Regions from separate parts of the Homo sapiens genome. Here all the other regions are linked to region 1. The links are contacts of gene promoters, found by promoter capture Hi-C in blood cells and fetal thymus (Javierre and others, 2016). All regions are on one chromosome and are shown on one strand. The core of a region is centred on a gene start or on the middle of the fragment in contact, and the rest is flanking DNA. Distances in the headings are between cores, read along the strand shown.

Region 1 (3,828 bases), core at 791-3,290:
TGTTACTATAAAGAGAAAAAGGTGGTTCTTTAATAAAGAAATCTTCTTAAAAACAACTGAAGTGTCTCTTACAATGATTACAGGATTAAAAAAAAAAGCAAGTTGGGAATTATGAAAAGCCACTAGGGAAGTCATGGTGATTAAAAAGAAAGGTTTTGGAGACAGATCTAGGTTCAAATTCCTGGTCGTGCTATTCAGAGAAACTTGTGAGGTTGGGTAAGTTTCTTCACCCCTTTTAGCCTCAATTTCCTTATCTGCAAAATTAGTCACTGTGTTAAATAAGAAATAGCAAACAGAGGTATTATTAGCACTGAGCCTGGTATGGGCCCAATAAGGCAGCTATTACCATTACTGTGAAGACAAGCTGACCAGGGACCTCATTAATAACGTTGCAAAAGCTGCTACGGTCGTTTTCCTTTAAAACTCAGGCTGGGCACGGCGACTGACACCTGTAATCCCAGCACTTTGGGAGGCCGAACTGGGCGGATCGCTTGAGGCTGGGAGTTCGAGACCAGCCTGACCAACATGGCGAAACTCCGTCTCTACTAAAAAATATAAAAATTAGCCAGGTGTGGTGGTGCGCGGCTATAATCCCAGCTACTGGAGAGGCTGAGGCAGGAGAATCACTTGAACCTGGGAGGCGGAGGTTGCAGTGAGCCGGGATCACGCCACTGCATTCCAGCCTAGGCGACAGACCAGACTTTGTCTCAAAAAAAAAAAAAAAAAAAAGACAAAAATCCACTCTTTGCTTTTTTAGTAGGGTAACAACTATTGGTAACTTTCTCTTGTTCGATATTAGTGTAAAGGACTCCACAGAAATAAGAACAAAAAGGGTAGAGTTAAAAACCGAATTTTACAGGTAGCAATAACCTGGACTCAGGTAAAAGTGCGTGATGAAGAATTGATCAAAGGGCCTTCATCCTAGCTTTCAACTATTCTACCAATCCTCAGTAGACTTGATGGGGGTTAGAATGGTATTCCCTGGCATATGCTTTTAAAACAAAATCATTTCAGGCAAAAGAAAAGTCTAGCACCCAGGATAGTACACATACTAGGCAGGATTAATCTTAATAATTACTTGTTGAATCAAGAAGTTGTACATTTCAGATGAAAATTTTAATTTCCTAGGAAACACCGACTTACATTGAACAAAATTTTCATTTGCTATTATTCTGGACTCACCGAGAGCTCAAGATTCTAGTTTTTATCTTCACTTATTTCAAAAACCTTATGCGGTAGGAATTATCCCCAAAGTAATGAAAAAAAGGAATGAGCTTTAAAAGCGGTTGAGTAAACTGCCTAAAGTTAACAGTTTCTAAAGTAAAGAAGCAGCTGAGATTTGAACTTGCTTTTTAGGGCTCAAAAATCCAAGCTGTCTGAGCTTCACTAAAGCATGTACCACTACTTGTCTCCCTAAACTGTCTGATACACAGAACATTTATTAAATTTTAAGGATTTTTGTTTTTGTCTTCTATGTTGCCAGTCCTTCCATTTCACATTACCTCCTTTGCTGGGTAAGCTATATACCCTCAATACAACGAGAATGGTGTCAGAGTACAAGCCTTAAGAACAGAAAATTTCTTTTACTCCGTACGCCAGAGGTCTGGCGCCACCACCACAAGCGACAAACACAGGCTGGGGTCCAGAAACGCTGCCGACCGCGCCCAGATCTCAAGTTTTAGTCAAGGCCCACGTTCAGACTAGGAGAGGGGAGAAGAGAGGGTTCTCTTTCCCCACACCCTCGCCACGGTGGAAGCACAGAGGAGAAGGTTGGAGTCGCAGTAACAGTGCAAACAATAAACCCGAAAGCCCCTCTTAAGCCCGTTAAACGCACTTACTTGATTGAAGTAATTCCAGGACGCTAGGCCGGCACCGGCAACGGAAAAGGCTTCTCTGTCCTCCAGCCCAGGCGCTGGTGCTGACGACATCTGGACTGCGCCGCAGAGAGTGAAGGCCCAGCGCGAGGCCGCGAGCCCAGCGCCCAGAGCGCGCGCTCACGAAAGGAGCGGGGCATCCCAACGGCGCCACCTTTAAGCGTCACGGGTGGGGCTGCAGCTTCTGGACCTAGGACTTTGAACATGTCGCGCCTGAAGCGGATAGCGGGGCAGGATCTCCGCGCTGGTTTCAAAGCAGGTGGAAGAGACTGCGGTACCTCGGTACCCCAAGGGCTGTTGAAGGCAGCGAGGAAGAGCGGCCAGTTAAACCTGTCGGGTAGAAACCTCAGTGAAGGTAAGACCCAGAGGTACGACCCTATTGTGTCTCCTGTCAGAAAGCCTTTGGCCCAGGCAACCTCCCTTTTCTCTGGGCTGGCTTTGGCCCCCTTTCTCAGACTGCTAGCCAGAATTTCTGTGCTCTAATCTAATCCCTGTGCTCATTTCGACCGGTTTGGTTAGCCCAGTTCAGTTCCTTCCCAGGTTCCCGCAATCTCTGTTAAAGGGACCCTGCTAAAAATACGGTCTAAATTTAAACGGGGCGCTTTCTGGGATTCCCACATTCTGTGGGATAAGCAACATAATATGTGACGAAACCAGCTATCAAATCACGGGCAAATCTTTTGTTTCTTTGGCCCTTATTTTCCTCCTCTTATTGTAATCTTCAAGGGCAATTACCAAAGCTAAAATTATATGTTTTATCGGCCCCTTTGTGAACCTGCACTGTTCCCTGCCGAGACGCTCTTCTGTATGCAGCTGTGCAGAGTTCTACTTACAAGGAATAATGAGTATATTTTCTAAGTTGAAGATCAGGATAGATGCCACACAGAGTGTTTGAATGTGGGGACATCCTGAGAAACCTGTTAAAGACCAAGAAGCACAAATCTGGGTACCATGAATGAATGGCCAGATGCTCTTCTGATTGTCGTGTGTGTGTGTGTGTGTGTGTGTGTGTAAGAGAGAGAGGGAGGGGAATGGAGAGATGGAGAAATAGAGCATTTTTCCTGTAATGTTTTTCTTCATTTATATTTAGGTTTTAAGACTGATTAAAACCTTCCATTTTCCTTCTAATGATTGCTTTCTTATTGTGACATGTATAAAGTAGATTAGGCAAGCAAATGCTTCTGAATGAATGAAAAGACACAGAATCCTTACTCCACCTAAAAGAGTTTTTGATCAATGGGAACATACTCATTTTCAAACTACAGTTGTGCATATATATATATCTACTTGGTTTCCCCAAAACCTGAAACATTTTTCTCTAAACTTGCATACCTATCATGCTAACATTCTGTTCTCTTACCTGTTTAATTTTTTAACAGCATTTATCACTATCAGAATTTATATCATTTATGTTTTTTGTTTTCTCTGCCCTCCAACCAAAAGGTTAATATCATGAAGTCAGTGAGCTTTGTTTTGTGCTTTGTTGTATTTCTATCACTGAAAATAGTGCTTGGTACATAGTAGAGTCTTATTAAATTTTGCGGAAGCAATAAGTAAGTGAATGAGTATTCTCAAATCATAAGTGGTGTGCTAGAATGTACTTATTGACTAGACTCAGGTGGTTTCGTCTGTTAAACTTTAAGAGAGCACATGGATTCTGACTCTTAGGTCCGTGATGATATGGATTAGAACTGCTTAGGTTATTGTTATATAACCAGAACCTAACACTTTACCTGGTACATAAAATGATTTTAAATGAGTGAATAAACAGCATTTCATAGGAGGGAAAGATATAAATGGCAGAAACTCATGGTATTTGTAGCTTATATATAAAAAAGGAATCCCTGTTACTATAATATAGAAAGTCTTTCTCTGTCTGGCTGTATGTAGCCCTCAGTTTCATCACTTGTTAGTGAAACTTTGATAGGCAAACCACTATAATTCTGAACTGTTT
Region 2 (3,828 bases), core at 473-2,972, 7.4 Mb before region 1:
TTTTGCATGTTAATACTTTGAGTAGAAAGCTACTTGTCAATTTGGGAGGTGGGGGATGGTCCCGAACATATGTATCTAAAAGTTCGGAATCATAAATAGACTTTATACCTTGAAGGCCAGTTTATTAAGGGATACTTCAACTTAATACATTTATTTTATTTTTTAATTTTGAGACGGAGTCTCACTCTGTCTCCCAGGCTGGAGTGCAGTGGCACAGTCTTGGCTCACTGCAACCTCCGCCTCCCAGGTGCAAGCAATTCTCCTGCCTCAGCTTCCCGAGTAGCTGGTATTACAGGTGCGTGCCACCATGCCCAACTAATTTTTGTATTTTTAGTAGAGACAGGCTTTTGCCATGTTGGCTAGGCTGGTCTTGAACTCCTGACCTAAAGTGATCCGTCCACCTCGGCCTCCCAAAGTGCTGGGATTACAGGTATAAGCCACTGCACCTAGCCTACTTAATACATTTATATAGTTTTTACTGTTTATGTCTCTTACAGTCCATTCTAAATAGTCGTCTTTGTAACTCAGTTCATCTTGTTGAGTAGGAGAGAAATGTTCTACTTTGATCATTGGGAGTACAGAGCAAAAAACAAGAGCAGAGGTTGGTTTGCTTGTTATTAAGAAAGTGTCATGTTTACAGGAGCAAATGTAAAAATCTGTTAGATTGGAGAAGAGGAACTTCCTTAAATGAGGGAGAAGTAGATTACAAGTCACTCAAGTAACCGTGAAAATATAAAGATGGGATTGGGTTTGCAATAGTGTGTGACAGAGGTGGTAATCATGGCCGTGCTTCCCTTTTACCTGCATTGAAGTAGTCTGCTACAATTCAGAATTACTGTTGTGTTAAAAAAAAAAAAAAAAAAAAGTCCAAAAGCATTAGTGGAAAATACTGCTAATAACAGCACTAATTTTCTATGAGTACTAAGAGATATTTTAAAAATGAAAAATATCAGTAGAAAAATATTCTGTATCAGTATTACTTACACTTAATTCATTTTAATTACCAAACCAACATTTTTTTTTTTTTTTTTTTTTGATAGGATGACGAAAGTATTCCTATCATGTATAGGAATTTACCTGAATATAAAGAACTATTACAGTTTAAAAAGTTAAAGAAGCAGAAACTTCAGCAAATGCAAGCTGAAAGTGGATTTGTGCAACATGTGGGCTTTAAGGTAAGTTCTATTTAATTTTAGGATTCATTTCATTTTATTTATTTATTTATTTAGAGACAGAGTCTCACTCTGTTGCCCAGGCTGGAGTGCAGTGGCGTGATCTCAGCTTACTGCAACCTCTGCCTCCCGGGTTCAAGCGATTCTCGTGTCTCAGCCACCCAAGTAGCTGGGATTACAGGTGTGTGCCACTATACCCAGCTAATTTTTGTATTTTTAATAGAGATGGGGGTTTCACCATGTTGGCCAGGCTGCAGTATTCATTTAATTTTAAAAGGGTGATAAGAGATACTTTAAAGTGGTTTCTGTAGTGTTAAACTCCAGAATTGCTAAGCATGTAGGAAAAAGTTATCTTTTATCCCATTCATTTATGCAAAGCAGTGGTGCCATCGTTCCTGATGTGAAGAGTTTATTATTTAGTAGAGTGAAGACAGACATACAGGTAGCTATCAATTGAGGTAAAATGTGAGGGGCTTTTGTTTAGCCGTTTCTCTTTTTGTTGCTGTTGTTCATGGGTCAGAAATGGGTTTTTTTCCCTTTCTGATTGAGAGGCTAATAGAAATGCATATACTCATTCTGCAGAATTTTGTAATACACATTATGTTCCAGTCACTTTGCTAAGTGCTAGAGATTCAGCAGTAAACAAGACAGACTCAGTTCTTGCCCTTACTCTGTTTTCATTCTCATAAGGAATTTAGAGAAGTTAAACAAAATAGTTGAGCGTGGCTAGAGTACATACTAGAGAGTAGTTAGAGGCTGCTTGCACCGCCTTATAAATTTTGCCAAGGAGCTCACACTATCCTGAGAGGTTGGTGGGGGGAACCATTGAATGATTTTAAGCAGAAAGTAACATGACATTTACGTTTTGGAAAGAATCATTCTAGTTACTTAAACTATTGGGGGTGATGATCTTTAGGAAAGCAGTGGGTTTGGAACTGACCAGCTTTTCCCCTCATCATTTTGGCCATAGTATGGAAACTTAATTAGAGGAAGGCAAGACTAGAGTCAAGGAAACTGGTTAGAGATTCTTTTGATAATTTAGACAAAAGAGGAGGGTGTCCTGAACTTGACTGGTGGCCATGGAAATAAAGATTGGCAAGTTTGAGAAGCCTTTAGGCATTAGAATTGACTTGGTTGGACTGGAGGAAGTAATAATGAGACCATAAACTTGGTGGTGTTGGTGGGTGCACATGAAAGTACTGATGTGTGCTGTGACTGGTAAACCAAATTAAAAACAAAGTTATACCTTTGATCCTCTAGAGTAGCCAGTAACCATACTATATTAAATGATTTTCCCTCTTGATCTTTCAGTGACCCTGTTTCTCCAATAGAGATTTTCCTAACTGGCAGCTCTGGCCTTTCAGAAAAACTTGCTTCACTTCTCCTAATTTTGCTGCAAAACCCAGCCATGGCTTGTTTGCCATTCTGTCAGCCACTATAGTTGACCAGATGATCAAAGAAACTAGAAATGATAGATCCTTTGATTTCCAAAAGTGCACAGAACACACTGAGGACTGTCACAATGCCACCACGCTGAGAAAGAGCTAGATCTGCCTTTTTGACATGATGGGCATTGGTTATTAGGAGTCTTTAGGCTTTGGGAGAGCGATTCAATAAGAGATAAAAGTTTAGACAGAATTTCATTGTTGCCTGGGTTTATGTTAGCCAAGAGAACCTGCTAAAACAATTCTGTATCAATTACCAACAGTGAAGCACTACAGGAGGCAGCTGTGGCATTGCTTCCTTAACCAGTATTTGGATAGTTTTAACTATGGTATTAACTCTCTGTTTCTCAACCATAGTCATCATACAGTGGTCTGAGGTACCTTTCAAGTAGATGATTACAAATAACAAAACACCCAAGTTGGAGATGATTTACTTTTAAAAATTTTTAAATAAATTTAAGCTGATTGAAGATTATCCCTTCCAATGTTCCTCTCACTCACCCATATCTTGATATTGAGTGGATGGAATTTTACCTAGTTTGCTAGAAATTGTCTCTAACACATAACCATTTGTGTGTTATATTACTGTCCTGTGCATGGAGAGAGAAGAGAAGATGTCTGTGTGCACATCATGTGTTTCCTTGTGGAAAATAAAAAAGATCGTGGAACAGTATAACTTAATACATTTTCTCTCTGAATCTGTTATAGTGTGATAACTGTGGCATAGAACCCATCCAGGGTGTTCGGTGGCATTGCCAGGATTGTCCTCCAGAAATGTCTTTGGATTTCTGTGATTCTTGTTCAGACTGGTAAGTGTTTTCTTCATTGTCAGTCTTCAACTTAGACAAGAAAAGAGCTTCTCAGCCATTAGTGAATTTGATTTCCAAACATAGAAAATATTAATACCCACACTTAGTGAATTAAATTTTGTTGTTCTAGGCAATTAATTTTTTTCTGTAATCATACCACATGTCAAGTAACTTTCCGTTGGAGATTTTGATAGATTAATGGATTTAAACAGGGAGAGCTGTGAGGAAGCTTTGTAATACACAGACTAAAATGCATCCACTACCATGTAATGATGTGTGTCTTTTTTTCTTTACAGTCTACATGAAACAGATATTCACAAGGAAGATCACCAATTAGAACCTATTTATAGGTCAGAGACATTCTTAGACAGAGACTACTGTGTGTCTCAGGGCACCAGTTAC
Region 3 (3,828 bases), core at 724-3,223, 6.8 Mb after region 1:
TGGAGTACAATGGCACAATATCGGCTCACCGCAACCTCTGCCTCCTGGGTTCAAGCGATTGTCTTCCCTCAGCCTCCCAGGTAGTTGGGATTACAGGCACCCACCACCACGCCTGGCTAATTTTTGTATTGTTAGTAGAGACGGGGTTTCACCAGATTGGCCAGGCTGATCTTGAACTCCTGACCTCAGGTGATCCACCCTCCTTGGTCTCCCAAAGTGCTGGGATTACAGGCGTGAGCCACTGCACCCGGCCCTAATTATTTTCTTATTTAAAATAAAAACATCACGGGATAACTCCAGAACTGATTGGAATGGCTAATCTTTTGTCATTGATGCCAAATCTCAAATCATCCCCTCAGAAAGATCATCCCTGACTATCCTACTAAAGCTTCCTCCCCTTACTGTTTGTATCATTACCTTCAATTTGCTTCCTAATTCTTTTCACTAACAGGATTTGTATTTTCACATGACATGGTGCAATCTCACACACATAATTTTCAGTATAAATGCTGGACACCAAAGAATACATATCATATGGTTCCATGAAAGGTTCATAAATAGGCAAAACTAATCTATGGTGTTAAAAATCAGGAAAGAGGTTACCTTTGGGGAGGAAAGAAGGGATGGTGGTTGGGAGGGGTGCCCAGAGAGGTGTTCTGAAATGCTGTGAATCTTCCTTCTTGATTTGAGTAGTGGTTAGGAAATGTGTTGACTTTAGGATAAATTAACAAGTTACAACTTATAATTTGCGTACAGTATTTTTCTATATGGTATATTCCAATTTAAAAAGCATAAAAGGGGCTGGGCGCAGTGGTTCACCCCTGTAATCCCAGCACTTTGGGAGGCCGAGGCAGGTGGATCACCTGAGGTCAGGAGTTCGAGACCAGCCTGGTCAACATGGTGAAACCCCATCTCTACTAAAAATACAAAAATTAGCTGGGCGTGGTGGTGCGTTCCTGTAATCCCAGCTACTCGTGAGGCTGAGGCAGGAAAATCGCTCGAACCCGGGAGGCAGAGGTTGCAGTGAGCCAAGATCGTGCCACTGCACTCCAGCCTGGGCGACAGAGCAAGACTCTGTCTCAATTAAAAAAAAAAAAAGTGTAAAAGGAAATTACTTGGATGTGTTGACTAAAGGCTCCCTGTGAGCAGGGATCCTCCTGTCTTAGTCGTTGCTCTCTGTTCCCCACTTGTAGAACAGTGTTAGCAGAAGGCAGGTACCCAAGAAGTATTTGCTGAATGGAGCTGTGTGCGTCTGTGTGTACGAAGCGGGGAGGTACCCTAATTTTACTGAGCCCTGTGTGGTTAAAGATATTATGCGAGGCTTTTAACGACTCTCTTCTGCTTAAACCAGAAAAAGGGTTATTTGCGACTTTTTCCACCTGTAAATCAGAAAACAGTAATTTTCTAACCCATCCACTGGCCACGAAGTTGCTAGGCAGGCAGTAGATGCGCTTTTCGTCCTCCTTTGCCCTGACGGTGCATCTCGACAAATGCCAAGCCCGCCGTCCCCATCCCAGAACCGACTTTGCTCCTTTTAGTCTGAAAGGTCCTTCCACCGCAGTGGACACAACACCGGGGAGTGCAGCTATCCCGGGCGTGTATATGGGGCGAAAGGGATCCCTTCTCGCGTTTCTCCGCCCCTCCTCTTGAGGGCCAGGCCCTCAGAACCGCAAGGACAAGGGTGCCAGGACCGCCCCAGCCTGCAAGTGCCACCACTATCACCGCGTCCCCTCACCCGACCCACAAGCGACCCTGCAGGAAGGGCTGGGGAGGCCTCGCGTCGCGTCCCTGGGAGTGGAGCGGAGCTGGGAGACGGGTCGCCAGCTCTGCGCCGGCTCGTGGCGCGTCCGAGCCCCCGGCACCTCCCCACACTGGCCTGGGGTCCGGAACCTCCGGGATCCCATGCTCTTACCCCGCCGCCCGCCGGCCGCTGGGATTCGCGCCTGCCGTGGGTCCCAGGAAGGCGCATGCGCGCTCGCCCCCGCGGCGGACTGCCCCTCCGGCCTTCCGCCTCCGTGTGCCCGCGCACCACCCGCGCGCCCGGTGCGGGAGCGAGCCCGTCGAGCGTGAGGGGAGGGGCGGGCAACCTGGCCTGGACAGGAGGCGGCCGGCTTAGGAGGCGGGGCAAGAGCCGATGGAACCCGAGAGGTCCCCAGCCCCGGGTTAGGCTAGGGGCAGGTGGAAAGCCCCTTGCTCTTCTTTCCTGGGATCGTGGCCAAGGCCGGAGCGGCTGCTTAGCCAACGGATTCCTGTCAGGGGCGGGCCCTGGCTTGCTGCACTGAGCAGAGAGCCTTGGCCGGTCCTCACCACCTCTGGGCCTGTGCCCTCGAGGAGCCAGAAAGCCAACCTGCTTCACTTTCTTCTAGCCACATGCCTGCGAAGAAGAAGACTGGGCAGCCCCCTAAAGTAAGAAACATTGAACATCCAACCATTTGCGAGAGCCTGTGCGTTGTGCAAAAGGACAGCCCTGCCCTCGAGTAGCCACTACACGTGCCCCAGCGGGCAGCTTGAATCACCTGGTCCCAAACTTGCCAAAAATACCTATCTAGTAAGTTAGTAAGACCTGCACACTTTTCCTTTTGCATTGATCCCTTCCTTTCCAGTTCCACTATTTCCATCTCAGTCTAGGCTTCTGTCCAATCACGCATGGACGGCTGTGATGATTTTTACTTGCCTTCCTTTGTTCAGAGAGTGCCCTCATTCCCCACTTCTGAATCTTGCCATTCTACGTAAGCCAACCCCTATAATTTGTAAGTGTTAGCAAATATTTGGCTAGGACTATGGCTTTCTACTGAGTCTGAATAACTTCTCTCTGGGCCTCAGTTTCTTCAACTGTGAAAGAAATCAGTAGGGCTAGGTGAACTTCCAGGTCTAAAATATGATTATATCTAAAAGACCATCAGCACTGGGAATATGGAGAAATATGGCAGGTCCCTGCCCTCAAGGCATTTAATTCTCATTGGAAAGACATTTTTATGCATAAAAGGATAAAAAGCTATAGAAGGAAACACATACTAAATGTTACATTACTTACATATGCACTAAGCACTGTAGGAGTTAGGAGAAGAGGGTTCACTGTAAACTGCAAACCATCAGGAAATGCTTTTCCTGGAGGAGTCAGCTGAGCTTTGAAGGAAAGCCTGGCTGGATAAGCCCAGAGAATGAGAGTAAGAATCTAGACAAAGGAAATGGTTCAAGCCAAATATTGTGGCAGCTGAAAAGTGTAGAACATTTCCTCTAGTTTAGGTGGTGGGTGATGAAGCTGGAAAGGACTGGTAATTGTAGAGAGCCTTGAATACCAGGCTATGGTGTCTGGAATGTATCCAGTGATCAGTAAGGGGCTATTAAATGACTTTTAGCAGGGAGTCAAGTATACAGTACAGTTACAGTGTTAGAGAAAACTTAAAGTGGTGAAAATGGATCAGATGAATCAGAGGGAGACTATAGCAGTCCACGCATGATTAGACAAGGGCTTGGACTGAGATGGCAATAGTGGAACTGCAAAGGGAGAGATCAATGCAAGAAGAAACATGTACAGGTCTTTTTTTTTTTTTTCTGAGACGCAGTTTCGCTCTTGTTCTCTTGTTGCCCAGGCTGGGGAGCAATGGCACGATCTCGGCTCACCACAACCTCCACCTCCCGGGTTCAAGCAATTCTCCTGCCTCAGCCTCCCGAGTAGCTGGGATTACAGGCATGCACCACCACACCTGGCTAATTTTGTATGTTTAGTAGACATAGGGTTTCTCTGTGTTGGTCAGGCTAGTCTCGAACTCCTGACCTCAGGTGATCTGCCTGCCTCGGCCTCCCAAAGTGCTGGGATTACAGGCG
Region 4 (3,828 bases), core at 995-3,494, 6.7 Mb after region 1:
TAGAAGAAAATTTATAACATATATGAAAAGATCAAGATATTAAAAGTTTTATATGTGGAAGTAAAAGACGAATACTATAGTTGTATATGGACGTATTATATATTAAACAAGAATAAGCCTTTGGCAGTTAATTTCTAATTTTAGATATATACATATGTATATATATAATTGTTCAAATATGTGATAATAGCCAAAAGAACAAAGATATACACAAGAGAAGAATCACTGAACAAAGGAAGAGCACACATCTATTCTCTCAAAATACGAAAGTCAGATGACAGTCTTCATCAGGTTTTTAAGAGGAGCAAATCAGTTAATACATGTGAAGCATATACAATATTGCTTGACACGTAGTAAGTGCTAAATAAACTGCAGATAATGAGAAACTCCAGAATAATGAGAATCGGGATATGAGTGGTAGTTGACACCCATCTTCCACAGCAGGATCAACAAGATCATTTCATTAACATCTCAATAATGCAGCCCCACATTTCAAATAGCTATATTTTAAAAGTCTTATTTATAGCATTATCATAGTTTTACTGTGTTCCTTTATTAATAACAATATTTGGGGTTTGTATAGCACCTCTGTACATAAGAGCTTAAAGAACTGTCATACATCTTGTCTTATCCCTATTACAGCGGTCAGGTATTTTTTTGTCCGTTTTACAGATGAGGAAATTGAGGGGTAGCAATGTCACCCAGCTAGCAGTAAGTGGCAAAAAGCCGTAAATTTCACGAACAGTTTCTTCTTTGTTAATGTGGATATAGTACTGAACAATGGTTACTATGGGGTATTAGATTCTACTGGTGGTCTAACAGCTTCCAATATTACTCTACCCAGCTTTGACTTCTAAAAATAGATCTCCAACCTAATAAATTGAATATTTCAAGTTCAATAATAAGATAACACAGGTAGGGTCCCCTTCAGGACTCATTGCATTCCTACTCAGGAGGCCTAAATCACTTGCACCTTTTCGAATTATATAGATCATTTACACTTGGGAAAGAAAGATAATAATTGCTTATCATGGATGAAGTACCCTATTTATAATACGCAGGCCGCCTGCCTGACACTTTCATATTACACCAGATTTAGAAGGACCCCACAGGGATGTGGTGTCACAGTCTGGTTACTGCAAATTGGTAATACTATAATTAAGCATCAGAGTTCTAAACACATATGTGTGCATGCATCTCCTCACAAATGTGAAAGAAAACTGTTTCAAGAAGTAAGGGAGAATGAATTTCACTTTGCAATAAGCAATTTTAAAATATAAGTATATTTTAGGATCGTCCTCAAATATTCTTTCCAAACAAGGCAACTCCCTCACATGGAAATCCCAAGGCAGAAATGTGCCAGAATTTTATTCTTTTCCTTTCTGTGACGAGAAACCAAACTAAAGCTTAAATAAACATATAATTGCACCCCCCGCAGGCTTGGAAACCTCCCTTACTTAAAACTCCGGCCCGAGACTGAGACAGGGGCCTAGAGAGTACATTGCAGCAAACGGCTCCATAAATAACCAGCCACACAATAGCAAGAAAAATAAACTGTTAACAAGCGCCTAAGGCTTCTACAGGGCCAAGTGAAAACAGAAAGCCGTCCAGTCACCGTCCCTACACAGTGAAATACCGTCACAGGTAATCTCGGGCACCATCTCTCTATTTTTGTATTCCTCTGGAAATAAAACCGCATTTACATGTACATTTTAGGTACATACATGGACCAAATGTTTATGACAGAGAAGTAGACAAAGCAGAGGAAGGAGAAGCAGCTGCACAGAGAGGGACAGAGGGAGCGAAGAGACAGAGACAGCGAGCTGTTTGCTACCTAATTCTAGCTCACAAACAAGGAAGCGCAGCCAATTCTCTTCGGCGATTCAGCGTTCCTCTCACCGCAGCTGGACAGATCTCGGCCTTTCTCTAATCACCATGGCAACTGCACCTCACCGCCACCGGAAATAAGATGCAGAGCCCTTCTCCAAACGATCCGGCTAGAAATCTAGGAAGCGCTGATCCGGAGCGCACAGAGACAGCTGTGTTGCTCCTCTATCGCGGGGGTGGTATGGCCAGAGTAGTGAGAGAAGGTGCTCTGTTACACCAGCAGGAAATAGGTGCTGTCCTGGGCCTAGAACTCCCCGCTCGCTCCTTTGCTCGCGCACACCCGGATCCTTCGTCGCGGGGAGGATGTTTCCGCCCGGCCGCGGTGGGCTTGACGCAACGTCCAGCGCGCGCTTTTCATGCCTTGGCGTTTCCTTTGGCGGATTTTCTGTTTTCGGAAGTTGCTGGGTTCGTTTTATTCAGCGGCAGTGGTGCTTTCCCGAATCTCAGAATGCCGTAGGTATCTCCTCCCCAGGTATTGCTGTTTTGGGGGCCCTCTGCAAGAAGAGAAGATATTATGTGGCCCAGTAGCCTTTCTCGTTTTCCTATTTTTTCGGAGTATGAACTTGTCTCCTCTGTCCACAGGCAATTCCCTTCGCTTGGTACCCTCAACTCTACGTCTCCTCCAGCGGTACTCATACGATAGTCCTCCTTCGCTTTCTGTTTCTACGATGCTTTTGACAGATTTCGTAAACTGTGGGCTGTATTTAGGTGATGTCTAACTTGAAATAACATAAATAAGGTTGACACACAGGATGGGACAGAGTAGATGAAAACACGCCTTCGTAGTTTGTCAGTCCCTTGCCTTCATTAATGTGGCGCGTTCGTGTAAACCCGTGGGAGAACTCATGGACTGAGTGGGTCTAGATACCTGGATTCCAGATAAGACTCTTTCACTGTTGGGCAAGTCACTTATCGACCCTGAGCTTCGTTTTTTTTTACTTACACAAATAAGTTTGTACTGCATGATCTCTAAATTCCCATCTATGACCAATAATCTGATTATTGAGAATGACCATAGTGGGAATAGGCATTGTGCTAGATAAGATTCATCTGTTTTTCATATCCTTCATCCATCCTATATTGAGATGCATAAAATAGTTGCTACCCTATAGAAACTTAAAAAAGCCATTAAAGGTTGGGGGAGTGGGGTGGATATCAAACACCTGTAATTTCTCCTTGGCCGTCCTTGTCCTCAGGTTGATTTAGGTACCCCCTCTAGTGTAACCTGTTCCTTAGTTTATTTCAGGATTAAGTAAAATGCAAAGTAACACAGCTGGGGAAATTTTTGTATCAAATAGGAATTGACATGAAAGGGGAAAGCTGTACAGAAATGATAACCTATATTTATTGAATCTTGAATTACAATGTGGGTGCTGTATTAATCAATTTATCTACGTTTTTTCATTGAATCCTAAAATACTTTAGGGGATGGGGGCTGCTATTATCTTTACAGATAAAGAAACCCATCACCTAATAGGGTGTTCAACACAGCTGCCAATAAATGCATGTTTTACTGATGCCCTTAAAAGTTATGGATTATTGAGGAGGTTTTCCTTTCCCCAGAATTAAGCAAAGAGACTTGTTTCCCTACTCTTGCATTAGAAAAATCATCCAGTTCTCAAATAAACAAAGCTGCAAAGATAATGTCACACAATCACACACACAAAATCCCTAAGAATACAGTGAAAACAGAGGTGTATTTGCCAAACAAGTGGTAATACCTCCTGAACTGTGTGTATCTGTGTATAGGAGTGGGGAACCAAAAAACTATGAAAAGTGGAACTTTTTTTTTCTTTTTTTGAGGCAGAGTCTGGCTCTGTTGCCCAGGCTGGAGTGCAGTGCTGTGATCACAGCTCACTGCAGCCTCTACCTCCTGGGCTCCCACATGCCACCATGCCTAATTTTTTTATTTTGTAAAGACAGTGTCTCCCTGTGTTGCCC
Region 5 (3,828 bases), core at 1-2,500, 6.6 Mb after region 1:
CCCACATTTCCATATATCAGATTTACTGAAAAACTTTTTTTTTTTAATTTCCCCTATCCGAGTGGACCCGCCCAATCAAGTCAGTTAACTTTCCTTGGCCGGGGGCGGAACCAAGGTGTTGCGGTAATTTCCTGGCCTGCCACGACTGCTTGCTTGCGTAAGGGCGTCTTTGGGTATGTTGCCATTCTAATGAAAATTCAGCTCCAGCCCCGTCGGTGGAACAGATCCCGGGCACCACTGGGCAGAGACTAGATGTTTCAAACGCCTGCCCCCCAGCAAGCAGGCCGCGCAAAGGGCAGGAGTTCGGAACCAAGGCAAACTAGGGGGCGGGGAGAAAAGATTGGCACCCGCCTGCTGAGATCTGCCAACCTGACGCCCCAGGGGGATGGGTGCTCTCGCCACCCTTGCCCCACAGTGTCGGGCTCCGAGCCAGCGGGAAGCGCCAGTCCTAGCCGAGAATAGCAGAGGAGCGGGCGGGATGCGAGGGGGCTCTGGGCGAGGCGGCGGCAGTCTAACCTTTCCTGCTTAAGGCGACAGCACTCTGCGCCGTAATCGTATCTTCCAAGGCTGCAAGGTTAGGGCAAATGTCAGACGCCTCGGGAGGGGCGGGGGACGGGGAGAGGGAAGGCAGCGGCTAGAGACGGAGAGTCGGGCGTGACCTTGGGAGGCTCCGCGCCCGCACCTCCCGGCGCCCCGGGAGTCAGGCGAGCAGGTCTGCCGGGTCCCGTGGCCACTTTCCCCAGCCCGGCGACCTCCGTCGGGCCTCCAGGCCAGAAGAGCGAGCGCGAAGGAGAGGGAGGAGCGGGAGGTGGAAACCGAGGCGGCAGCGCGCGGAAGCGGCCGGCCCCGAGCGAGGGAGGGCGCCGCGGGCCGCACGTCGCACACGCGCCAGGGTGCACAGCGGCGCGGGGCCGCGCATCCCTTACCCCGTTGGCGGCAGCGATGCGAGCGATGAGCTGGATGGCCTCCTTCATGTAGAACCGGCCGTCCCCGCCCACCACCAGCGTGGCCTCCTGCCGCTGCGCCGGCTCCACGGTGGAGATGATACTCTGGATGAAGTTCTCCGCGTAGTTGGCGCTGCTCTGGAACACCTTCACCCGCTTCCGCAGCCCGCTCGTGCCCGGCTTCTGGTCCTGGTACGCCTGGGTCTTAACTGTCACGATCTTCACCATGGTGGCGACTTGCTGCCGGGGGTCAGAGCGGCGGACTTGGCTGGCGGAGGGGCGGCCGGCTGAGGCTGCAGCTGCTCTGGGGTGAGGGCACGGCGGGTGGGGGCTACGCCGCACTCTAGGCCGGCGTTTGGCCCTCCTCCTTAAAGGGACAGGGGACAGGGCCCTCCCTCCGCGCCAGCCCACCTCCTGGCAGGTCCGGCGGGAGGGGAAAGGGGAGCGCCGGTCTCTAGGCCTCCTGTGAAATGGGTGGAGCCTTACTGATTTACTCTCCCCTTCGGAATCCTATCCACTGTAAAAAGAGGCCCGCAACTCCTCCTCTAAGTGTTGGGGCAGAGGTTGGGGTAGGAACCCGGTCATAGGGCAAGGACGTGAGGCAGGGTGGAAAAAAGTACAGGGTAGAATGATTTCCAGTGGTTTGGCGAATGCATCGTGTGTAAATAGCTTTCTGGAAACCTGTTGGGAGGGTCAGAAGTGCCAGCCCCAGCTCGATTTCATGAGTCGTAATTCTTTCTATTTCTCCCTAAATGTGAGGGCATTTGAGTTCCGTAAAGGAGTCGACTCCAAATGTTTCCTGCTGCACCACACACTTGACTACCATTGGTGACGGTGACTTAGCTATGACTTGCTGAGTGTAGCGTTTCTAAACCTTACTAAACTCTGGGTTTTATTTTTCCCCTTTTTATGCTTACAAAACTGAAATTCAAAGAATAAAATGCCTTGTCTCATTGCCACACAGCTAAGTCCATGCGGGAGGCCAATTCAGGTGGTCTGGCTCCAAAACCAGGGCTCTTCCCATGATTTGCCCGCTGTGACACCAGGTTGGCAACTAGGAAATGTACAAGCAGGACTTGACAAATGTAGGAGCAAATATATGGTAAGGATAAGTATGAACACCATCAAAATTAGCCAGTTACTCATGTAATAGAAATAAAGTGAGGAGATCAACAAACAAGGACTGACATGGCTGGAAAAGTTTCACGGGGGATAGCAAGGTCAACCAAGGGGATTTGATTATTAAGTAGGAATCTTCAGTCTTTCTTGCTTTTCGGTTTAGTATCTCCCTTAATTTGATGAGAGTGATTGTCTCCTCTGTTCAAGAAACCTGTCATTTTGGTAAAGTGGCAAAAAACTTGGCTTTACAAGGTGTGTGCTCTTGGGAAAGTTAGTTAATGTCCGTGGGCATCAATTTCCTTACTGTAAAATAAACATATCACCTACTTTGGAATATTTTTGCAAGATTTAATGGGGTTTTGTATGTCAGAAATTCTCAGTCATGGATACACAGTAGAATCCTACTGTGACCCATGCTCACAGTAGAATTACTTGAGGTGGTTTCTAAATGACCCAGTCCAAACAAATTCAATCATAATCAGCTGTTAGAAGTAAATCATCTAGCCTGGTGCCTGAAACATAGAGGCCTTCAAAAATATTAGCTCCCCTTCCCCAATTCCAAAACCAGAGCATATCATTCACCTGTGAATTATATTCTTTTGGTAGTTAATTGGTATGTCTTGATCAAGCAGGGAGGCGAACAGACCCATAAGAGTGCAGACTCTCACAAACCAAGTGTTGATATACATGCTCATATAGTACATGCTATGTAGATACAGTGTGTTGATGTAGTCACTATAGATGAGTTTCGGTGGCAAATATTATGTGAAAACGGAACCCTGGACTGCTAGTAATGAGTTCTAATATTTGCACAGGAGTTTACAGAGCAGTGTAATCTTGTGAATTAAATAATATAATCAAGCCCATTTTATAGACGAGAGAATTGAGGATTGGATGGTGAATGTAATCAAGGTTATCTAACTCCACAAAATGAAAATATAGCATAGATTCACTGAGCCTTCAAAATACCTACCTTAGAGTTGTATGGTTTAGATAGAGAATATACAGCTCCTACCACAGTGCTAATAAGTAAGTCATCAATAAATGATAACTTGTAAAGTCACGGGCCCAAATTCAGATCTCATGCCCTTTCTATATTCTTCAGTATCTTTGGAAATATGATGGAGCTTTTCATTTAAGAGGAATTGATCTATACTTCTCTCACCCCAGAAGTTGTAACAATTAGCTTTAACTGCATAACACACCAGTCTAAATCTGAGTGGCTTAAGACAACCCCCATTCATGATTATAGTTCATGATTCTATGAGTTAACTGGCAGTTCTGCTGTTCTGGACAGGGTTACTGTGGCCCCTTATACAGACCTAACATGATCCCCATGTTCCTTGCCTCCTGATAATCATGCCTTTATGCAATCCCCTTGTATTACAGATTGAGTATCCCTTATCCGAAATGTTTGGTACCAGAAATGTTTCAGATTTTAGATTGTTCCGGATTTTGGAATGTTTGCATTACAATGGTTGTGCATCCCAAATCCAAAAATCCCAAATTCAGAATGTTCCAATGAGCACTTCCTTTGAGTGTCATGTTGGCACTCAAAAAGTTTTGGATTTTGGAGCATTTTGGGTTTGGGATTTTTGGATTTGGGATACTCAACCCGTACTTTTCTACTGCTGTATGACAAATTACCACAAACTCAACAGCTGAAAACAACACCCATTTATGATGTCACAATTCTATAGATAAGAAGTCCCAATTCTATAGATCAAAAGGTTTGGCCAGGTTCAATCCTGGTAATCACGGATAT
Region 6 (3,828 bases), core at 394-2,893, 5.6 Mb before region 1:
CTGAGGTATCCATTAGTCCATCAATAAAAACTTCAGAAGACAGTCTGAAGTAAGTCTGGAGTGTAGATGAGATCTGAGCTGTGGAGATAGTCACATCTAGGTAGAAGTGGCCTAGGAAAAAAAGCTTTAATGACATGCCCATAATTTGGGAACAAAGGTGGGCACAGCAATTCTCTGGGAGGTAGCAGAAAAACAGGGGCAAGTGGAATCAAGGAAGCCAAATTAAAAGAGTTTAAGAGAAGACCAGTCAAGAACATTAAACATAGGCCAGGCAGCAGTGGCTCATGCCTGTAATCCCAATGCTTGGGCAGACCGAGGCAGGAGCACTTGAGACCAGGAGTTTGAGACCAGCATGGGCAGCATAGCGAGACTCTGTTTCTAAAAATAAAGAAATTAAGAACATTAAATACAGCAGAAAGGTCACATGAGATGAACTGAAAAATGACCATTGGATTTGGTATTTGTTACTTTACCATTGTGTTGCAATCGTGTGTGAAAAATGGTGATGCTTTGTCATGAATAGAGACTAACAAAATAATAAATGATTTGAAGGACATGCATCTTTTTTGTTTGTTTGTTTTGAGTCAGGGTCTCACTGTGTCACCCAGGCTGAAATGCAGTGGCGCAATCTCAGCTCACGGCAGCCTCGACCTCCCGGACTCGCCATCCTCCCACCTCAACCTCCTGAGTAGCTGGGACCACAGTCACGTGCCACCACACCCAGATAATTTTTGTACTTTTAGTAGAGATAGGGGATGGGGGTGGGAGGTTCACCATGTTGGCCAGGCTGGTGTGGAACTCCCGGCCTCAAGTGATCCGCCCACCCTGGTTTCCCAAAGTGCTGGGATTACAGGCGTCAGCCACCGCCCAGCCCACTCTTTTAATACTAAACATATTATTTTCCCTGAATTAGATGAAATGTTCAATTTAATCTATTTTATCCCACCTTAGCAGGATTTGGAGAATTAAATTCAGCAGCCAAAGATCAGCTCACAACTTCTATCAGCAAACTCACGCACAAACTGTCATTTGTCAGACACTGTGAGGGACGTTATATGGGATACTTCAGCCTTTCTCAGAACTGAGCCATCCACAGTCAAGGTCTTGCAATAGAACCAATTTGAAAAGTCAAGGCTTCTAATCACCCAGACTCACCAAATTCCCAGGGCACTCAGATCTCACGCCCCAACCAAATCACAACTTCACTGTGGTAACCACCACCCACGTGCCCCCGAGCCTCCATGAACTGCCGGCCTCTAGCCTCAAGGAGACTCCTCCACCCAATCACTCCTTGCCTTGAGCTGGCCGGGAGTTTGGCGCGGGGCAGGGAAGGCTGCTGCTGCTGCTGCTCCGGTCGCCCGCAGCTCCTGACGTGCCAGGACAGGTGGATGCAGAGACCACCTGGACCGAAGGGCGGCTCTGTGGAGTCTCCTGGAGTCCGAAATTGTAGCGGGGACCCTGAGGTGAGCGGGTTTCTCCCGACGACGGGGAAACCGCCGGGGCAGAAGGCGAGGTTGATGAGATCTCAGGCCTCAGCATCCTCCCAAACCTTCCCTGACCCGAGAAGTATGAGGTTTCTGAGCGACCCCTCCAGTAGCCCAACTACAGAAGCTGCGCCGCTGAAACGGGCGGGAGAACTGCGCGCCGACGCACTAAGCTGCACTGCGCAGGCGCAGGCAGGCTCAGCTTTCCACATGGATTCACGTACTTCAGGTCTATGACCCTGCTTCCAGCCATTCCCAAACCCATCACTTTCCACATGAACCTCACTGGAACATCCTCAGCCTGCAGGTATCAGACTGACCAGAACTCTGCAAGGCCCATCAATGACCACCCGATTTGTTAGCCCCATTATTCTCACAGCACCCAATCTCCCTTATTGCAAATGTTACATGCATTTCCCACACGTCCAAGCACACTAGCTTATCTTTAAATGTAGAAACCACCCAACACAGTACACCCAGTGCCTTTGACACAATGAGAACGTGTAATGCTCACACAGCATAACCCACCTAAGGTTGATCTTGTGACCAAATATAGGAAAGATAGTTATATTATCAAAAGATAGTATGCACATGGCTGTGTGCATAGTAGAGTAGGAAACAGGGAAAGACTGACTGGGTAAGATCTCTCAGTTAACAATTCCCCATCTACCAATTTCTAGTACTGTGGTTTCTAACATATAAATCAGTTAATGGCACACTAGAAGTTCAAACTCCAGCTTTGCAGTGGTGACCTTTAGAAAATTCCTTAAATAAGGCCAATAGTACCAACTTACCAGAGATCCATGGATTAAACATGACGAAATTATCTGGATACTGCCATACAGAAGCTATTAGAAGACATTAATTTACACCACTACTGAAATCCTGCCACTGTTGAGTATCTCAATAAACCAGTTATGCACAGCGGTTTACCCACATGCAGTGACAACAGTCCTTAAGAACATCTCTGTTCTTGGAATGATTATTGCACAGGGCATTCCAAACATACTTGAGAAAAATCTCAATTTCCATCAAAAAACCTTATTTTCAGATCGGGCACGATGGCTCCTCCCTGTAATCCCAGTACTTTGGGAGACTGAGGCCAGAGGATTACTTCACCTCCGGAGACCAGCCTGGGGAAGACAGTGCCTGTCCCCAAAATTAAGAAATCAGCTGGGCATAGTGGGCATGGTGGCAGGTACCTGTAGACCCTGGTACTCAGGAGGCTGAGGTGGAAGGACTGCTTGAGCCCAGGAGTTTAAGGTTACAGTGAGCTGTGATTGCACTACTATGCCCCAGCCTGGGGAAGAAAGGAAGACCCTGTCTCTAAAAAATAAAATTTAAAAATAGAGAATACCTCACTTTCACCAAAACTGTAAACCCCTAGAGTGATTGTACTCATTTTAGGCCAGGCGTGGTGGCTCACGCCTGTAATCCCAGCACTTTGGGAGGCCGAGGTGGGTGGATCACAAGGTCAGGCTGGTCTCCAGCTCCTCAGCATGGTGAAACCCTGTCTGTACTAAAGTAACATAAAAATTAGCCGGGCATGGTGGTGTGCGGCTGTAGTCCCAGCTACTCGAGAGGCTGCGGCTGAATTGCTTAAACCCGGCAGACGGAGGTTGCAGTTAAGCTGAGATCGTGCTGCTGCGCTCCAGCCTGGGCAACAGAGATTCTGTCACAAAAAAATAAAAAAGAGTGATTGTACCCATTTTAGCTTTTTAAGAAAAAGACAGGTGCAAAAAAATACTGTGGTGACCATCAACTTACCCGTTAGTGTTTCCTTATTTGAAGACAACTCCTTCTTTGGGTAATTCTGATATATAAAATGCTAAAAAAAAAAAAAAAAAAAAAAAAAAAAAGGACAGTCCGAATCACAACCCCATTTTAAGATGGTAGATTGCCATTTAACCTAAGTCTGTGACCAATTCAGAATAACCATATTCAAACCTATCAATCATTTCCAAATTTCAACAGCCATTTATTTTGTGCATCATTTAATTCATGTATGGGTTCTATCCACTTTCATCAGTTAACATTCTTGTTGACAAACCAATTTACATCAACTTGCTATAGAACAGATGAAAGGTATACATGGGGGAAAAATCAAGTAGAAACCTAGAGTTATTTTATGTTAGCTCAGTTATTGAACATAACAGACACAGAAGTATACACAAAGAACTGTAGTCAGAATAACAGGACTTCAGAATAAAAAGCAGAAAATAAAATACCGGTCTTTATTTTACAATATGTATAATTATATAATTTATTAAAATTAATTTAACACAATATACAAAATATTAACAGTAGTCACTTTTAGATTCGATAAGCACTTCAAATACAGAAA
Region 7 (3,828 bases), core at 1-2,500, 5.5 Mb before region 1:
CACTAATTAAACAAGCATCAAAAGTTCCAAGTCCAAGACCTCCTACAGTATCAAAATGTTTCAACACATTGTAATATGTAGTACATCACAATAGAAATAAAGGTAAACTATTTTAATTGCTTTCAATATGACCAAAATTTGTTTTAAAAGGAAATTTGCAATATAATATCTACATGTGTTCTGGCTGGCACAATAAGAAATTATACTTTCTTAAAGCTCTAAAATTTTCAAAAAATTATTTTACTATTTGTAATTTGAACCTGTATTCCTGTTCTAACTTGATTTTGTTAAAACTCAATTCAACTCTAAAACTGGGTCTGAGGAAAAGAATCATGGTTCACAAAAAAGACTCAATAAAATGTAATATAGAAGATAGGAATAAAACACAACAAATTGACCAACTCTAGAAACGGAAGTTACCAAGGTTTAGGTGCAAGTTAAGGTTGGAACCAGTTAGAAGAAGGAAAAACGCATCTAGGTATAGAGTGCAAGCTTCCAAAAGTGGGCAAACACTGTAGTCTGAGCAGGAAGACAAAGGTAGAAAGTCATTTAATGGCAAGAAATATTTGAAAAAAATGACTGAGTAGAGTTCCACAATTTTTCTTACTCATATGCATTCCAGTATTAAAAATATAAAGAAAGCTTACCACAGTTCTCTGGAATGTGTGTGTTCATTAAACCAAGTTCCCAGGCTCTTCTAATTAGGGGGACTGGATACTAGAAGAAAAAGAACTGAGTTAAAATATATTTTGAAATCCAGATAGTTTGATTACATAATCTTGTAAAAAATGTAAAAGATTTTTCCCTCTTTAAAATGTATATACCTACTTCACCAGTTTTATCATATTCTGCAGCCACTGGGATGATTTCCTCTCTGGCAAATTTACGAGCAGTAGCTTGAAATTCTTTCTGCTGTTCGGTGAACTCTAAGGGAAAATTATTTAGAAAAGTTAAAACTGGATAACAAGGAAAAATGTCCTATGAAGTCAGTATGTAGAAATGTGTATTTATTGTGGGGACTTAAATCCTTGATTATCAGAAACTCAGACTACAGTGCATTTTTTGACTAATCAAGAGTTCACTACACAATATAAATAAACCTATGTCAATACAAATGCTAAAGGAAATAGGTAAGATTTTTAACTTTTACAAATGAGTAATAGATATTAACCTGTAGAGCTCAAGTGAGTTTTTCTTTTCCAATTGGTGATATAAAAAACGTTTAACTTATTATTAGTTCCTAAGCCAATTTATCAAATGTTTGCTAACACTGAAGTGAAACTAATATACAAGACATCTCCCTGACGACAAGAATCAATCTAACGAAATAGATGAAACACACTCAGTGACATAAAGCAATAAAACTTATTTCAAAGTGTCATATAAGAATATCAATATCATAATTTTGCTTTTTTTTTTTGAGACAGTCTCATTTTGTCACTCAGGCTGGAGTGCAGTGGTGCAATTACGACTCACTGTAGCCTCGACCTCCTGGCCTTAAATGATCTTCCCACCACAGCTTCTCAACTAGCTGGGATCACAGGCACATGCCACCATATCTGGCTAATTTTTGTAATTTTTGTAGATACAGGGTTTTGCCATGTTGCCCAAATGGGTCTAGAACTCCTGGGCTCAAATGATTCTCCCATCTTGGCCTCCCAAAGTGCTGGGAGCCACCTCACCCTATCTATTTCATTTTTTTTGTTTTCACAGAGACAGGGTCTCACTATGATGCCAGGCTGGTCTTGAACTCGTGGCCTCAAGCAATCCTCCTGCCGTGGTCTCCTAAAGTGCTGGGATTACAAGCATGAGACACCATGCCTAGGCTTACAGCTCCTTTAAACTCAGACAAGCTTATAAATTAGCACAAAGCAACTGGTAAAAGTGGTAGAAAGGTTTTTCAAAAGATAATAACATAAAATCCTGCTGCAATGCTAATAAATGGTGTCCAACAATTTGTTTACATAAAATAAGGGATTGTTTTAAAATTAATGAAATTAGTATGGTGGCTTGATTGAGGAGAGGAGTCAATTGCTAACTGCATCTTTTCAAATCCATGGTATCCTTGTGTTTTAATGTGGTTGCATCTAACGTCAAAGATTAGGTAAAATTTAAGAGATAATAGGGTATTTCAAGCAAGAAAAATGAGAGCAAATGCACAGAGGAATGTTTAAGACTACAGTAATCATTTGTATGGGGATGTGAGAAACAATACATAAAAGCTGAATTCTGGTGCTGAATTGAAGAGCATAAGATCAAATCTCTTTTTTTTTTTTTTTTTTTTTTTTTTTGAGACGGAGTCTCGCTCTGTCGCCCAGACTGGAGTGCAGTGGCGCAATCTAGGCTCACTGCAAGCTCCGCCTCCCGGGTTCACGCCATTCTCCTGTCTCAGCCTCCTGAGCAGCTGGGACTACAGGTGCCTGCCACCGCGCCCGGCTAATTTTTTTTTTTGTATTTTTAGTAGAGACGGGGTTTCACCAGGATCTCGATCTTCTGACCTCGTGATCCGCCCACCTCGGCCTCCCAAAGTGCTGGGATTACAGGCCCGAGCCACTGCGCCCAGCCAAATCTCTCTTTTTATTGATAAACTAATGCAGAGTAAGGAAATTCTAGTATCAGTCTCACAATGAATTAGCAGAAGTATACTTAAGAATTTCAGTCCAGTGTTCTCTCTATCACAGCTTTACTTCTAAGATTGGTGCCAGTTGATAGCAATCTTGCAGGTAGATAGAGGGTAGAGAAAGTCTGGGCACGGTAGCTCATGCCTATAATTCTAGAATTTTGGGAGGCTGAGGCAGGTGAACCATTTGAGGCCAGGAGTTTGGGGCCAGCCTGAGCAATATAGCAAGATCCTGTCTCAACAAAACATTTAAAAATTTAAAAAATCAGCTAGGTGTGGTTGACATGGACCTATTGTCCTAACTGCTCAGGAAGCTGAGGCGAGAGAATCCATGGAGCCCCAGAGGTCAAGGTTGCATCCAGCTTGGGTGACAGAGTGAAACCCTGTCTCTTAAAAAAAAAAAAAAGGAAAAATGACAAGTATGTATTATGTATTATTTATTGAGAAACTACTTTGATCCAGTCACTAAGTGCTAGGGGCTTTAAATACAGCATATAATTTAATCTTCATAGAAATTCTGTGTTATAGATATTATTTCCACTTTACAGATAAAGAACCAGATGCAACTGGTTCAAGGAATAGACCCGTATTGAACTTCACAATCTCCCTCCCAAACAATTATATCTAACTCATCCTCTGTCACTCAGTGAACCACCATAGATTTCTCCTGCAAGTCTCTTACTACTGAGAGAGAAATTTAAAGTGACAAGCAATCATACCAAATTAATGCTAATTATCTCAGTATGATCCACTACCCTGGCTGGGCATGCTGGCTAATGCCCATAATCCCACTTTGGGAGGACAAGACGGGTGGATCACTTGAGGCCAGGAGTTCGAGACCAGCGTTGCCAACATGGCGAAACCTCATATCTACTAATAATATAAAAATTAGCCAGGTATGGTGGCCCACACCTGTAATCTCAGCTACTTGGGTGGCTGAGGCAGGAGAATCGCTTGAACCCAGGAGGCAGAGGTTGCAATGAGCCCAGATGGAGCTACTGCAATCCAGCCTGAGCAACAGAGCAAGACTCAGTCTCAAAAAAAAAAAAAAAAAAAAAAAAAAATCCACCATCCCAAATGGCTATCCTCACAGTGCTTGAAAACTTTCATTTAGTCTTTGGCTACAGAAAGAGAAAAGAAAAAAAATTTTCATTTAGGTTGGGCACAGTGGTTCATGCCTGTAATCCCAGCACTTTGGGAGGCAGAGG

The links. Contacts are between HindIII fragments. The CHiCAGO score rates a contact against its expected background, and 5 or more counts as called.
Region 2: a fragment that was not itself captured here is called in contact with the fragment with the promoter of LRRC40 in region 1 in 1 of 17 cell types (activated CD4 T cells); the score reaches 5.5 in activated CD4 T cells.
Region 3: a contact is called between the fragment with the promoter of ALG6 here and the fragment with the promoter of LRRC40 in region 1, in 6 of 17 cell types (non-activated CD4 T cells, activated CD4 T cells, total CD4 T cells and 3 more). The highest score is 22.2, in non-activated CD4 T cells.
Region 4: a contact is called between the fragment with the promoter of ITGB3BP here and the fragment with the promoter of LRRC40 in region 1, in 4 of 17 cell types (naive CD8 T cells, non-activated CD4 T cells, activated CD4 T cells and 1 more). The highest score is 10.0, in naive CD8 T cells.
Region 5: a contact is called between the fragment with the promoter of PGM1 here and the fragment with the promoter of LRRC40 in region 1, in 2 of 17 cell types (total CD4 T cells and activated CD4 T cells). The highest score is 9.5, in total CD4 T cells.
Region 6: a contact is called between the fragment with the promoter of MSH4 here and the fragment with the promoter of LRRC40 in region 1, in 8 of 17 cell types (naive CD8 T cells, non-activated CD4 T cells, total CD4 T cells and 5 more). The highest score is 25.3, in naive CD8 T cells.
Region 7: a contact is called between a fragment that was not itself captured here and the fragment with the promoter of LRRC40 in region 1, in 1 of 17 cell types (naive CD8 T cells). The highest score is 5.1, in naive CD8 T cells.

Annotation. Positions count from the first base shown.
Region 1 is chr1:70,203,791-70,207,618 of GRCh38, reverse strand. It overlaps LRRC40 (leucine rich repeat containing 40), which reads left to right and starts at 2,040. Exons shown (of 15, transcript NM_017768.5): 1 at 2,040-2,229. The coding sequence starts at 2,079. It also overlaps a transcript of SRSF11 not described here. RefSeq lists enhancers at 1,817-2,126, 2,387-2,446. The HindIII fragment of the contact is 8,465 bases long and covers 1-3,828 here.
Region 2 is chr1:77,565,679-77,569,506 of GRCh38, reverse strand. ZZZ3 (zinc finger ZZ-type containing 3) reads left to right here. Exons shown (of 15, transcript NM_015534.6): 13 at 1,041-1,175; 14 at 3,326-3,426; 15 at 3,723-3,828. Among named protein-coding and RNA genes, the nearest start is that of ZZZ3, 120 kb to the left of the region's middle. The HindIII fragment of the contact is 3,871 bases long and covers 1-3,657 here.
Region 3 is chr1:63,365,772-63,369,599 of GRCh38, reverse strand. ALG6 (ALG6 alpha-1,3-glucosyltransferase) reads right to left here and starts at 1,973. Exons shown (of 15, transcript NM_013339.4): 1 at 1,913-1,973. RefSeq lists enhancers at 1,404-1,513, 2,374-2,513 and a silencer at 1,694-2,173. The HindIII fragment of the contact is 8,093 bases long and covers 391-3,828 here.
Region 4 is chr1:63,521,641-63,525,468 of GRCh38, reverse strand. ITGB3BP (integrin subunit beta 3 binding protein) reads left to right here and starts at 2,244. Exons shown (of 9, transcript NM_014288.5): 1 at 2,244-2,340. The coding sequence starts at 2,336. It overlaps EFCAB7 (EF-hand calcium binding domain 7), which reads right to left and starts at 1,944. Exons shown (of 14, transcript NM_032437.4): 1 at 1,835-1,944. RefSeq lists enhancers at 1,981-2,060, 2,222-2,845. The HindIII fragment of the contact is 3,975 bases long and covers 1,409-3,828 here.
Region 5 is chr1:63,590,833-63,594,660 of GRCh38, reverse strand. It overlaps PGM1 (phosphoglucomutase 1), which reads right to left and starts at 1,250. Exons shown (of 11, transcript NM_002633.3): 1 at 927-1,250. The coding sequence starts at 1,172. RefSeq lists enhancers at 214-273, 974-1,263 and a silencer at 634-933. The HindIII fragment of the contact is 4,618 bases long and covers 1-3,828 here.
Region 6 is chr1:75,794,697-75,798,524 of GRCh38, reverse strand. MSH4 (mutS homolog 4) reads right to left here and starts at 1,643. Exons shown (of 20, transcript NM_002440.4): 1 at 1,296-1,643. The coding sequence starts at 1,539. RABGGTB (Rab geranylgeranyltransferase subunit beta) reads right to left here. Exons shown (of 9, transcript NM_004582.4): 9 at 3,439-3,828. The HindIII fragment of the contact is 6,934 bases long and covers 127-3,828 here.
Region 7 is chr1:75,729,742-75,733,569 of GRCh38, reverse strand. It overlaps ACADM (acyl-CoA dehydrogenase medium chain), which reads right to left. Exons shown (of 12, transcript NM_000016.6): 3 at 829-926; 4 at 648-717; 5 at 1-42. Among named protein-coding and RNA genes, the nearest start is that of ACADM, 6.9 kb to the right of the region's middle. The HindIII fragment of the contact is 1,211 bases long and covers 645-1,855 here.